Regions from separate parts of the Homo sapiens genome. Here regions 1 and 2 are each linked to region 3. The links are contacts of gene promoters, found by promoter capture Hi-C in human tissues and cell types (Jung and others, 2019). All regions are on one chromosome and are shown on one strand. The core of a region is centred on a gene start or on the middle of the fragment in contact, and the rest is flanking DNA. Distances in the headings are between cores, read along the strand shown.

The links. The method cuts DNA at HindIII sites, captures the fragments that hold promoters and counts their contacts. A contact is called where the count stands out against the background at its distance.
Region 1: a fragment that was not itself captured here is called in contact with the fragment with the promoter of FAHD2A in region 3 in 2 of the 25 tissues and cell types used here (aorta and dorsolateral prefrontal cortex).
Region 2: a fragment that was not itself captured here is called in contact with the fragment with the promoter of FAHD2A in region 3 in 1 of the 25 tissues and cell types used here (H1 embryonic stem cells).

What each region holds. Positions count from the first base shown.
Region 1 is chr2:95,798,113-95,802,931 of GRCh38, reverse strand. It overlaps LOC128966744 (glycerol-3-phosphate acyltransferase 2, mitochondrial), which reads right to left. Exons shown (of 16, transcript NM_001422178.1): 11 at 4,536-4,658; 12 at 4,283-4,365; 13 at 3,838-3,956; 14 at 3,118-3,188; 15 at 2,819-3,027; 16 at 2,741-2,816. The coding sequence ends at 2,741. It also overlaps the pseudogene GPAT2P1. Among named protein-coding and RNA genes, the nearest start is that of LINC00342, 26 kb to the left of the region's middle. The HindIII fragment of the contact is 3,229 bases long and covers 499-3,727 here.
Region 2 is chr2:95,082,723-95,087,252 of GRCh38, reverse strand. MRPS5 (mitochondrial ribosomal protein S5) reads left to right here. Exons shown (of 12, transcript NM_031902.5): 12 at 1-1,884. Among named protein-coding and RNA genes, the nearest start is that of MRPS5, 37 kb to the left of the region's middle. The HindIII fragment of the contact is 8,892 bases long and covers 1-4,530 here.
Region 3 is chr2:95,399,263-95,404,007 of GRCh38, reverse strand. FAHD2A (fumarylacetoacetate hydrolase domain containing 2A) reads right to left here and starts at 1,300. Exons shown (of 8, transcript NM_016044.3): 1 at 1,136-1,300. RefSeq lists enhancers at 392-511, 652-1,590, 1,582-1,661, 1,591-2,530. The HindIII fragment of the contact is 15,771 bases long and covers 1-4,745 here.

The sequences.
Region 1 (4,819 bases), core at 864-3,363, 400 kb before region 3:
GCCAGTCTCTAGATGTCTTCTCATGAGTCTTCTGCTTTCACATGAAGCTTTTTAGAAGACAGAAGGAAAAAAATGTGAGAAGAAATACCTTACCCTTCCAGAAGATAGACCTGTTGTGCAGAGGTGCATACAACTGAGGACAGGGTTCAACGTTTTAAATTTCCACGTAGTTTCTGTGACTTCATTTAAGAGACCGTTTTTTGAATTCCATGGTTCCAATTTGTGTCTATTTTCCTGTTCACATAAATTTATAGGAATATACATGCCAGCTGTGAGAGATGACTTTATTTCACTGTTGCTCTTATATCCCCCTACAGTTGTCACAAGGACACCGATATCACACAGTGACATGAACCTAGACATATAGTACACTTGGCAGAAGAATTTGCCAGGTCTAGCCCAGCAGTCCATTCAATGATCTAAAATTGTGATACAGAGAAAAACAGAAACACATATGAAACACTATAGTCAAGATACCCTGAAGTAAAAAACAGAGTAATTTTGACTGATGCATGACACATGCAGAGCCATATTGCACATGTATGTGCATATGTAAGGATCATATTGTATGATCATATTGTATGATCCTTCTCTATAATCTGTGTTTATAGGGCATATCTATGTACAACCTCTATTACACAGAATTAGGCTCAGCCAGAAGGGGGCCAAGATGGCCAACTAGAAGCAGCTATGGTGCATGGCTCTCACAGAGAAGAATGAAAGGGATGAGTAAACACAGCACCTTCAACTGAAATATCCAAGTACTCACACTGGAACTGATCAGGAAAACAGCTCCACCCATGGAGAATGGAAAAAAGCAGGGCAGGGTGACAGCCCACCCAGAAGTGACAAAGAGCCAAGGGGAACCCCTTCGCCTGTGCAGGGAAGTGATGAGTGAATGTGTGAAAATAAACTCCAAACCAGAATTTCATATCCAGCCAAACTAAGCTTCATAAGCAAAGGAGAAATAAGCTCCTTTTCAGACAAGCAAATGCTGAGAAAATTTGTTACCACCAGACCAACTTTACAAGAGCTCATGAAGCTCAGAAGTGTCCCACAACTACATGGAAATTGAACAGCCTGCTCCTGAATGACTCCTGGCTAAATAATGAAATTAAGGCAGAAATCAGGAAGTTCTTTGAAACCAATGAGAACAAAGAGACAATGTACCAGAATCTCTGGGACACAGTTGAGGCAATGTTAAGAGGGAAATTATACCTCTAAATGACCTTATTCAAAAGCTAGAAAAATCTCAAGTTAACAACCTAACATCACAACTAAAAGAACTGGAGAACCAAGAGCAAACAAACCTCAAATCTAGAAGACAAGAATCAACCAAAATAAGAGTTGAACTGAAGAAGATACACACACACACACACACACACACACACACACACACACACACAAATTCAAAAGATCAATGAATCGAGGAGCTTGTTTCTTGAAAAAAAGTAATAAAATAGATTGACCACTAGCTAGACTAATAAGGAAGAAAAGAGAGAAGATTCAAATAAACACAATCAGAAATAATAAGGGTGATATTACCACTGACCCCACAGAAATACAACCATCTGAGAATATTATAAACAACTCTATGCACATAAACTAGAAAATCTAGAAGAAATGGATAAATTCCTGGACACATACACCCTCCCAAGATTGAATCATTGAATCCCTGAATAGACCAATAATGAGTTCTGAAATTGAGGCAGTAATAAATAGCCTACCTACCAAAAAAAAAAAAAAAAAGCCCAGTACCACATGGATTCACAGCTCAATTCTACCAAATGTACAAAGAAGAGCTGGTACCATTCCTGCTGAAAGTATTCCAAAACAATTGAAAAGGAGGGACTCCTTCCTAACATTGTATGAGGCCAACATCATCCTGATACCAAAACCAGGCACAGATACAACAAAAAAAGAAAACTTCAGGCCAATATGCTTGATGAACATTGATGCAAAAATCCTCAATAAAATATTGGCAAACCGAATCCAGCAGCACATCAAAAAGCTTATCCACCGTGATCAAGCAGGCTTCGTCCCTGGGATGCAAGGTTGGTTCAACATATACAAATCAATAAATGTGATTCATCACATAAACAGAACTAAAGACAAAAGCCACCTGATTATGTCAATAGATCCAGAAAAGGCTTTGATAAAATTTAACAACCTTCATGTTAAAAACTCTCAATCAACTATGTATTGAAGGAATCAGAGCCATATATGACAAACCCACAGCCAATATCATACTGAATGGGCAAAAGCTGGAAGCATTCCCCTTGAAAACTGACACAAGACAATGATGCCCTCTGTCACCACTCCTATTCAACATAGTATTGGAAGTTCTGGCCAGGGCAATTAGGCAAGAGAAAGAAATAAAGTGTATTCGAGTAGGAAGAGAGGAAGTCAAACTATCCCTGTTTGACCCCATCATCTCTGCCCAAAAGCTATTTATTTATTTATTTATTTATTTATTTATTTTGGGATGGAGTCTTGCTGTGTCACTCAGGCTGGAGTGCAGTGGCACAATCTTGGCTCACTGCAACCTCCGCCTCCCGGGTTCAAGCGATTCTCCCGCCTCAGCCTCCTGAATAGCTGCTACTACAGGTGTGTGCCACGACGTCTGGCTAATTTTTTCTATTTTTAGTAGAGACAGGGTTTCACTATGTTAGCCAGGATGGTCTTGGTCTCCTGACCTCATGATCCACCCGCCTCGTGAACCTACCCCCCGTGCACCTACCCCCCGTGCACCTCAAGACTCACCGCCCACAGCCTCGCTCAGGAAGATGGGCAGCAGCTCAGCACTCAGCCATGCCAGGTGAGGTGTGTGAGGCCTGGGCCAGGCCGTGGCACCACCAGCAAGTCGCCCTGGCGGATGCGCAGCAGGGCCACGTGTGCCCGCAGCAGGCTCAGTGAGTGCTGCAGCAGGCTCCACAGCTGCCCAGAGAAGCCTACATCAAAGTCACGCAACAGTATCTCCTCCGTCAGCCAGGAGAACTCCCCTAGGAGCTGCTACAGGAACACACCCTGGGTGGGCAAAGCAGGGCTGAGCAGCAGGGCCACACATCCACCCCCCCACCCCAACCGCCCAGGTCCCCACCACATTGCACCCCCTACCTTCTGATGCTTGAAGAGCAGCAGCGTCGCCATGATGGCCGTGCTCATCACCGCAGAGCTCCCCACACTGGCTGGAGTGGGGCGGAGGGTGGAGATGCTGGTCAGGTTGAGGCCCAGCAGCCTGGTCCCTCCATGATCTGGCAAGTCTTCCTAGCCACACATCCCAACTCCACCCCAGGGATGAGGAACGTATGCCCGGAGCAGTGGTGTTTATCATCACACACAGGCTGAGAGCAGGCCAGGAGCTGGGGGCCTTTCCCTAGATCTCATCGTAGGGCCCACACATCAACCCACAGCCTCTACTAGAGGGGCACTGAAGAAGATACAGATGGATCTCCCTATAAGGGCCCTCTGCAGAGGCACTATGCTAAGCCCCTTACACGTATCATTCCATTCAGTTAACACCATCCCCACCCAAAGCTAAGGAGACTCCGCTCAGAAGGCAGGGCTGGGTGTGGCCTTGGGGAAGCAGCTGCAGCCTCCTGGCCTCAGGCCACCATCTCTGTGCATGCACTTAGCTGCTCCCTCATGATGGCCCTGGCTGCCTGCTCCTCCTGTAGGAGGAGGGTTCCATTCTTCTTCAGATGTCCCCGAGGTACCACAGAGGGCCTCAGGTGCAGACACTCACTTGGAATGGAGAACCCTGGTGACTGGCTGACCCCGACAGAGGGGACGGTTCAGTGACCCACCCTCAAAGGCCCAGATCTGGTTCACCCTCACCACTCAGGACATGACAGCTCAGTCTCCTGACCAGGAGCTGGTCCTCTTCCTTGAGGGCCAGGAGAGGCCCAGTTATGGGGGTCCACTCCTGCTCCTTCTCAGTGTCTGGGACAGCAGTACTGAGATAGAGACACAGATTACAGGATGAAGGGTCCAAACACAAAAACAGCTGTGGGAATGCCTAGAGCTTTCTAAAAGGTGAGGGTGTTTCCCCCTCCCAGCCCCAGGACAGAGGATGGCTTCTATAATCCCCAGTCCCATCCAGGCCTCTGTGCCATACCCCACACTCAGACTGTTGGCAAGGCGAGTACCTGGAACTATTCTAGATGACCCCAGGATATTTGGTGAGGGAGGGCTGCTAGTGTGTGTATATGGGGGATACATAAGCTGGTGCTGAAGGGCTGCTTGCCTTGCCCCCTGAGACCCCACACTCCCGTGCCCCTACCATTGGCCCAGCATGATGGGCTGCAGTAGCTGCTCCAGGGTCTGTCTGCCGCCCCAGCAGCTTCTGGCACTGACGATGTATTCCTGCCCAGGAGAAGGCTCTTAGGTGGCCTGCTCGGGCCCACCAGGAAACTTGCACACAGCCCACTGGAAGTAGGCAAAGCTATCCCTGCAGTGGCTTTGAGGGCCAGGCTGCCAGGATGCCTAGGACAGACACCCCAGGTACTCCCAGCCTTCCCCAGCTGGCTCCATACCTGCAGGGAAAAGGGCTGAGCTAGGCGCACCCAGGAGCAGATCCGGTGGCTGCAGCCCCAGCGGCTCCACAAGCTACGTAGGACAGCCAGAGCTCCTGTCCACAGCCCCAGGGGGGCCGAGGCCTGCAAGGAGGGAAAGGATAACTATACTCGCCGAGGACACTGCTCTCGGGCGGACATCAGGGCTGCCCACCCATCCTGGTCTCCAGAGGTATCCTCTGGTCCCACCCTGCTCAGTTTTATCTCAGGCCCAAACTGGTGCGTGACCTTGTCCCAAGCTCCTC
Region 2 (4,530 bases), core at 917-3,416, 320 kb after region 3:
AAGTTTAATCTTTAAACTCTTTGGAAATAAATAATTATAGCTTTCATTTGTTGAGCACATGTTATATGCCAATGTGATAGAACCTTTACATACATATCTCAGTTCAAGACTACTTTAAATATTCATCCAAAGTAACAAAAGTAAATGAATTAGGGAGACGGGGTTAATAATTTGACCCAATCAGTAATAATGTACACAATGATAATTGCTGTAGTAATTATAGCTAATATATATGAACTCATTCATCCAAAGTGAATGTGATTAACTTCATTTTACAGAGCAGTTAAGTAACTTGACTACCGTGAGGAACTTCCAAACCGTTTTCCACAGTGGAAATGGAAGTTGTAGGCTACTATTGGGAATGTTAAATGGTATATTAATTGTATACCATTGCAATTTTGACTTGTATTTCCCTGATGGCTGATGATGTTGAACATCTTTTCATGTGCTGATTGGCCATTTGTATATGTTTTTTGGAGAAATGTCTATTCAGAGCCTTTGCCCATTTAAAAAGTTATTTTTTATTATTATTGAGTTCCTTATAGTTTCTAGATATAAGCCCCCCTATCATACATGCTTTACAGAAGTTTTTACCCATTCTGTGGAATATATATATTTTTATTTCTTTGCATACTCTTTCTGCCCCACCCACATCCTCTTTCTGGGACACTGATGACCAAAATGTTGAATCTTTTACTATTGTCCCGTGAGTCCCTGAGGCGCTGTTTATTTTTTTTCCAGTCTGTTTTCTCTGTGTTGCTCAGTTTAGGTAATTTCTATTGTTTTATCTTCAGAATAACTGGTTATTTACTCTTTCCTTTCCATTCTGCTCTTGAACCATCCATGCAGTACTTTAACTTTGACTGTCATTGTATATTTCAGTTAAAATTTCCATTTGGTTTATTTTTTATGTCTTCTCTTTATTTGCTGAGGCTATTTGCTGAGACTTTTTTTTTCTTTAAATGGCTTCAAGAGTGTTTATAATTGCTCACTGAAGCATTTTTATGGTGGCTGCTTTAAAATCTTTGTCATCAGGTAGGTGTGGTGGCTCACGCCTATAACCCCAGCACTTTGTGAAGGTGAGGCAGGAGGATTGCTTCAGCCCAGGAGTTTGAGATCAGCCTAGGCAACAAAGTGAGACCTCATCTCTACAAAAAGTAAAAGTAAATTTAAAAGTTAGACACACATGGTGGTGTATGCCTGTAGTCCCAGCTACATAGGAGGCTGAAGTGGGAGGATCATTTGATTGCAGGAGGTTGAGGCTGCAGTGAGCCTTGTTCATGCCACTCCAGCCTGGGTGGCAGAGTGAGACCTTGTCTCCAAAAAAAAAAAAAAAATTGTCATAAAGTTTCAACATCTGTGTCATCTTAGTGTTGACATCCCTTGAGGTTTTTTCTCATTCAAGTTTACAATGTCCTAGTTCTTGTTATGATGAGTGACTTTGGCTGTATCCTGGTCATCTTCACTGTTATGAAGCTCTGGGAGTTATTTAAATCTCTCAGCATGCTTCCTCTGACGGTGCTGGTATGGGATGGGGCACTGCCTCGTTACTGCCTGGTGAGGATGGAGATCCAGGTTTCCTCCTGTCGCTGTCCTCGGGACCTCTGCTGAGGCCTTTCTGCTGGAAGTAGGAGGAGCACCCTAATGGCACCGTGGGATAGGGAGCAGGCCATGTTAGGCTGGATGGTGAAAGTTTTCAGCCTGTGACGTTGTCTGGTGTGGGTGGGTCCCCTTTTTTTGTGTGTGGTATTTTGCTAGAGTAAGGTAGTTATTTCCTAAAACTTATCTGTCCTGTTAGTTTTCCTTCTTAAGTACCTAACAAATATAAAGACAATGAACTTTAAGCAATAAAAGACAATGATCCTTTGGAGAGGGGAAACAAAATTATCTGTACTTACTATCTGCGGAGAGTCCGTGGTTCTAGGAAGGGTTACCCCATCAGGACCTGGCGGTCTCCTGGAGTTGAGGTGCAGTTGGGCAGTCGAAATGACTAGAGTTCACAGGGGAGAATGCCTTGGAGGAGAGAGTTGCACAGCAGGAGAACTAAGATCTGCAGAGAGTTTCCATCAGATATTTAGTTACACACTAATAGTGCATGCCGGTGAGGAAACTCACCCAAAAGAATTAGAGGGAACAGTGTTTGGAGTGGAAAATAGTGCCTGTTATCAACAGTCACAGTGGAAAACCTTGTAATCTAGGTGGCATTGGAAGAGAACTAAGATGCCCTAGTAGTAGAAAAATTAACTCTACATAAAAACTACCCCTGGTCCCAACTCAGAAAGCTTAAAAACAAGACCAAACTGGAACACAACTGTTTCAAAGTAACTTAATTGTGTTCCAGAACAAAGCTCAAGAATATAGGAATACAAAAAATATACCCAATAAAGTAAAATATACAATACTTGGCATCTAATAAATCACTAGGCAGCCAGGCGCGGTGGCTCACGCCTGTAATCCCAGCACTTTGGGAGGCCCGAGGCAGGCGGATCACCTGAGGTCAGGAGTTTGAGACCAGCTTGACCCACATGGAGAAACCCCATCTCTACTAAAAATACAAAAAAATTAGCCAGGCGTGGTGACACATGCCTGTAATCCCAGCTACTTGGGAGGCTGAGGCAGGAGAATCGCTTGAACCAGGGAGGTGGAGGTTGTGGTGAGCCAAGAACATGCCATTGCACTCCAGCCTGGGCAACAAGAGCGAAACTCCATCTCAAAAAAAACAAAAACAAAAACAAAAATACTAGGCATGCAAAGAAGCATGAACATAAGCTCATAATGAAGTGAAAAATTAGTCCATCAAAACTGACCCAGGAATGGCACAATGACAATCAGTAGACAAGGACATTAAAGCAGGTATTATGACTGTATTCCATATGTTCAGAAAGCTAGAGAGAAAAACATGGAAGATACAAAACACCAAGTTGAACCTCTAGAGATGAAAACTGCAATATCTGATGAAAAACGCTGAATGGGATTAACAGCAGATTGGACATCTCAGAAAAAGATATGAAAGAATTGGAAGACAGCAACTTAAACAGGAAAAAGACTGAAGAAGGTAGGAGAAATTGGGCATTAGAGAACTATGGGACAACTTTGGGAGCCAAATACGTGTATAATTGGAGTCCGTGGAGAAGGGAGGTATAAAAAACAATTTGAAGAAATGGCCGGGCGCAGTGGCTCACGCCTGTAATCCCAGCACTTTGGGAGGCTGAGGCGGGTGGATCACGAGGTCAGCAGTTCGAGACCAGCCTGGCCAACATGGTGAAACCCTGTCTCTACTAAAAATACAAAAATTAGCCAGGCATGGTGGCAGGCGCCTGTAACCCCAGCTACTCCAGAGGCTGAGGCAGGAGAATCACTTGAACCCAGGAGGCGGAAGTTGCACTGAGCCGAGACCGCGCCATTGTACTCCAGCCTGGGTGACAGAGCAAGTCTCAAAAAAAAGTTTTTTTGAAGAAATAATAGCTGAATTGATGGCAACTACTGAGACCCAAGAAATATAATAACTATCAATCAAATTTCAACTAGCAATAAAGAGGAAGTTTTAGAAGTGAGGAAGAGAGAGAAGATTAGGTACAGAGGAACAAAGGTAAAGATGACAGCAGCTTTCTTGTAGGAAACAAGCCAGAAGCAGGAGGAGCCTGGTAGGTGTTCACTGTGGGGACATGGTAAGTTCCTGGAGGTAAAACTCGTAGAAATGTTCCCCACCAGGACTGGGTCCCTCTGGAGTTTTCACCTTTCAAATTTGGCCGCACTGAGCGTCTAGCAATTCATCAGTTAAGTTGAGTTTTCCCTACCCTGAACTTCTTCCTGGAATGGTTCTGCCAGTGGGTTTCTGCTCTGGTAAGTTGTGATTCTTTGAGTCTAGCCAATTTCTCAACTTCTGGAGACACCAGTTTGCCCTGTGAACTCAATTCTTTGATAAATCTAAGAAGAGGTTTTGATTTTTCAGTTTATTTAAGTTTTTACTTATTAGTATGGAGTGTTGGCCTCCAGGCTCCTTATACACCAGACCAGAAACCAGAAGTCTAAACATGTCAATTAAACAGTAGAAATTACCAGATTTCATTTTTAAAAAGCAAGACCCAACTATATGTTGCCTATAAGAAATCCACTTTAGATATGAAGACTGATAGGTTGAAAGTAAAAGGGTGGAAAAATAAACCACGCTAATGTAAGTTCATAGAAAGCTGAAGGATATGTTAATACTAGACAATGTAAATTTCAGAGCAAGGACTATTATTAGGGATAAAGAGGGCCATTTTATAATAATAATTCATCAGGACAACATAGCAGTCCTAAACATTCAGACACCTACAAATAGAACTTCAAACGCATAAAGCAAAAACTGATTGGACTACAGAGAAAAATAGAGCCACAATTAATAGAGATTTTAACATCCCTGTCTCAGTAATTGGCGCAAATAGAATTGGTAAGGATATAGAAGATGTGAGCAGCATTATCAGCCAGCTTGGACTTCATTGGCTTCTTTTTTCTTCTTTTCATTTTTAAGAGATGGGGCCTTTCTCT
Region 3 (4,745 bases), core at 51-2,550:
GACTAGAAAACCGAGGGCTTTGACTTCTCTGCCCTGCTGTCTTACACAAGCACCAACTGTGCCACTGTCAAAAGGCTGTTCGAGCCAATGTGCACACACTCAGACACTCCACATGCTAACATAACAGTAACTGCTGCCGCTGAATGCCAACTATTAAGTGCTCTACCTACAATGTCTGATTTAATTCTCGACAATTGTGGAAGGTAGGTACTGTTAGCCTCATTTTACAGATGAAACAATTAAGGCTTAAAGAGGTTAAGAGATTTGCCCAAGGTTACACAGTCCTAGAGCTAGGAGAGGAAGGAGCTGGGATGTGAATCCAAGTCCAGGTGACATGAAGTCCTTGGTTCAGAAGCTTGTAATGCAAGCAAAAAAATCCAGCTTCAGCCCCCATCCCCCTACCAAGGCCATTTTAACCCAGAATGTTGTGGTGAGAAGTGGGGACCTTCCATAGGAAATCCTCCAAAGTCTCTAAAGATTGTAGTGAGAAGTAGGGACCTCCCACAGGAGATCCTCCAGAGGCCGTAACTGCTAACAGACATGCGTGGGGAAACTACAGGCGCCCTCTGGCTGTTGCCTCAGGGACGAGGCTGGTTACCAGCTCTCCAAGAGAACCCCAGGCCCCACTGACTGTTCCCTTCCCACATGACACACACATGCAGGTTCATTCCAACCTTACAGCAATCTCCTCAGGTAGAGCGCCCTCACTTTAAAGAAGAGGACACTGAGACTCAAAGGGATGATGTCAGGTGCCCAAGGTACTAGTCAGAAAGTGGCCCTGGGGCTTCTGCAACAACCACTATATCACACAGCCCGAGCTCAATCCAACTCTGCAAGAGTCCATAAGCAAAGGGGCGGCGACATGAGGTGGAAACAGTAGCCTCCATCAAACAAAGCCTGAGACATGGGTGTGCACGTCGGATTCCATCCCACCGTCCACTCGCCTGGAACCCGTGCCGGTCCCCCAGTTTCCCCATATGCCCAGCTCCAGCCCCGACAGTTAGTGAGTGCTCACACAGGTCCGCCCCGTCTGTGTGGTCAGAAGCGGCTGGGGATCCGGTACTAGTTCTGCGCTCCGCGGGAGACCGGCGCCACGGACACCCTTCTGGCCTAGACCCAGCCAGGCTCGTCCTACCTGGCCGCGGCGGCCGATCTTCCTGCGCTGTAGGGTTAGAGCTCGCGGGGCCGAAGGTCAAGGGCGGCGGGCGCCTGAGCACTGCCACCAGTGACCGCAGCCAGCCGGGGAAATGCAGCAGCTGCTAACCCAGGGCCACTCGGCCGGATCACCCGAGAGAAAAGCGGGCGCGATCCTGTGACGTCACAGGCAATGGCCACTAGCAGGGCGCCAATCCCGGAGGGGCGGGCCCATCGTGGGGCGGGCGGCTCCGGCGGGTCTTCAGGCTACGGGTTCAGCCAGGCGCCAGCCGCGTTCTCTGGAGACGCTCTCTCTCGGAGGGACCCTGCACTTGCCTGAACTCGAGAGTGGGCGCTGCCCGAAGGTTTGTCCCTGGGCGCTTCGCTGGCCTCATCCGGTCTCGGCCTTGTTCTGGGCCTGGCGCCTTTCCCATTGTTGGGGAAAGTGGTCTAGGAGACCAAGGCAGCGTGCTGGGTGGCAGAGAATGATTTGTGGCTTCTGATTCTGACATATGTCGTTGAGGAGGGGAGGGATGACTGCCCCCGTTTTACTTATGGAGAACCTGGGGCCAGAGCTGTTTTCCCAGGGTGACACAGGCGGTGAGTAGTGGAGCTGGCATTCCTGACCCCAAAGCGCAGCGTTTCCCAGCCACTCTCCGCAGCCAGGCCTTCACCTGCACTGCTGGGCGCAGGTGGGGAAGTGGGGAAACGGGACTCCATCCCCTGCAGAGGGCAGGCGTGTAGGGAGTGGCAGCTGAACTCCACAGACAGCTACTGCTCAGCTCTTCAGCTGCCGACTTTGAACAGTGTGAGGGGCTCTGTACAAGTGGCCCCCACATTACTCAAGGACCAGATCATCAAGAGCTTTACTTGTCCCACGAAGGAGTCTGGACCTTGTTTACGTGCACAGGAGACCGCTGGAAGGTTCTCAGTGGCGTGCCATGTCCCGACTTCTATTTGAGAAGTTTTTCTCTGGCCACCCGTCTGAGGAAAGGTGTCTGGGTGGGTGGTGCGGTTGAGAACAATGGTGGTGCGGTGCGTGGTGGAGAAGGTGAGTGTCCAGAGATGTTCAGGAGGAAGAACTGACAGCTCTGAATGACAGGAGGTGGAAGTGAGAAGGAAGGAGGTACAAGGCCAACTCCTGGGTCTCTAGCTCGGTAGGTGCAGGGCCGTTCATGGAGACAGGGCTCCTGGAGGAGCAGCGGGTCTGGGGAGAGGATGGTGAGCTCCGATTTGCATGGGACATCCAAAGGGCATTGAACGGTGGGCAGTTGGAGACATGGGTCTGGAGCTTGGGACTTCAGCCTAGCTTGCAGAAGGTCACCACAGATATTGAAATGGAACCTATGGGGGTGGCTGTGATCAGGGGGATTCGCTGAGGAGAACCTGGCACAAGGGTTTCACTAAGCCATAGCTCCCAAAGACTTTCTGAAAAGCTAAGTTACAGCCTGGAAGAAAATATCTGTAAAGGCTATATTTGATAAAAAGACTTGTATCCAGAATATAGAAAGAATGCTTAAAAGTCAGTAGATAAAATCAAACAATTCAATTTTTTAGATGGACAAAATATTTGAACTGACATTTCATCAAATAAGATATACAGACAGAAAATTGGGACATGAAGGCTGGGCGCAGTGGCTCACGCCTGCAATCCCAGCATTTTGGGAGGCCGAGGCAGGCGGATCACAAGGTCAGGAGATCGAGACCATCCTGGCTAACACAGTTAAACCCCATCTCTACTAAAAATACAAAAAATTAGCCGAGCGTGGTGGTGGGCGCCTGTAGTCCTAGCTACTGGGGAGGCTGAGGCAGAAGAGTGGCGGGAACCCGGGAGGTGGAGCTTGCAGTGAGCCGAGATCGTGCCACTGCACTCCAGCCTGGGCGACAAAGCAAGACTCTGTCTCAAAAAAAAAAAGAAAGAAAAAATTAGGACATGAAAAGATGCTCAACATCATTAATCATTAAGGATATGCAAATTGCAAGCGCAATGTGACACCATCTCACACCTACTAGAATGGACAAAGAAGACTGATTATACCAAGTACTGGCAAGAATGTGGAGGACCTGGGATTCTTGTACACTGCTGATGGGATTATAAAATAGTACCACCACGATCGAAAACCATTTGTCAGTGTATGAAGAGAATTAAACATACACCTACCATATGATGTAGCCATTTCAATCCTGACTATTGACAGTATTGAATTTTACCTTAGCCCTTTGCTTCTAGAAATAGTGAAGGTTAAGGAATCCCACCACTCTTTTGTTCCAGAAAACCCCCTACTGGAAAGAACCAGTGACTTTCTATATAACCTGGATAAGACTCCCAGATGCTCCCTTGTTTATCTGTGACCAGGCCAGACACAGACCCTCTAAATTCCCATTCTTGGCCTCATAAATGATTAGCTGGGCTGCTTGTCCCACAGATCAATAAGAACAAAAGCCTGTAACCAAACCTTGGTTCAGATTCTCTCCTTTTCCAAGCCCTTGAGCTTTGGCCCACCCACAGCTTGTGCCAACCCGCAGCCCTCCTGAGGTTCCCTCCTGAGAACAGGCTGTCCGCAGGGTAAGACCTCCTCGATCGTGACACTCTTGCTCAGCCCACTTTCCCATAACAGTTCTTTCTAGCCACGTTTACGCCTCCCTATACAAGATCAGCCCTTTGCCTAACCTCTGAGACACTTGCAGATCATATGGGAAGCCTGCGAGTGGCCGCACTGCAACGTTTCCCTATTGCAATGGTCACCCCCACAACAATCCTTTGGAATAAATTCGCTCCTTATATAATCCAGATTTGTTTTTTTGTTTTATAGTAATTACCTGAGAAATTTAAAAAAAATGCTTATGCAATGGCTTATACAGAAATGTTCACAGCAGCCTTTTTACAAAATCCCCAAACTGGAAACAACTCAATTTTTCATTAACAGGTGAATGTGTAAACACTCTGTTATAGCCACACTAGGGAATACTACCCAGCAATGAAAAGGGACAAATTGTTGATGCAACATGGATATATATCAAGATAATTATTCAGAGTGAAAAAGAGATTAAAAATGAGTACATATGGAATTATTTCATTTGTATAGAGTATCCTTGGGGGGTACTTTCCAAGACCCCTAGAGGACGCCTGAAACTGCAGATAGTACCAAACCCTACATCTGCTACGTCTTTTCCTATATATACATGCCAGTGATCAAATTTAATCCAGATGAAGTTAACCTGGTGCTACACGGTTGCTGTTCAATCAGAATATGTTTCTGTTCACGTCTTCCACCCACAAATCTAATGCCTTTTCCATCCTAACTAAGTGCTTCTCACACACTGTAGCCATAACTTTTGCAGTTTGAGGTGCGACAGCAAAACTGGCACAAATTTCTTTTTCCTTCTTCACAATTTCATGGATAGAAGATTCGTTCTTTCTGTAGCTCTTAGCAACCTCATTATGTGATTTTTGTTTTATTTCCTTAAGTCAGGAGCGTTCCCATAAAGGAAGGCTTCTCTTTGGCATATCGGAAATGCCGACACCACTCCCCTTTTGCTCTGGGGCCATTATGAAGTCAGATGATGGTGCCTTGCACAGAAGCACTGCGGTACCACGACAGTGGATCTAA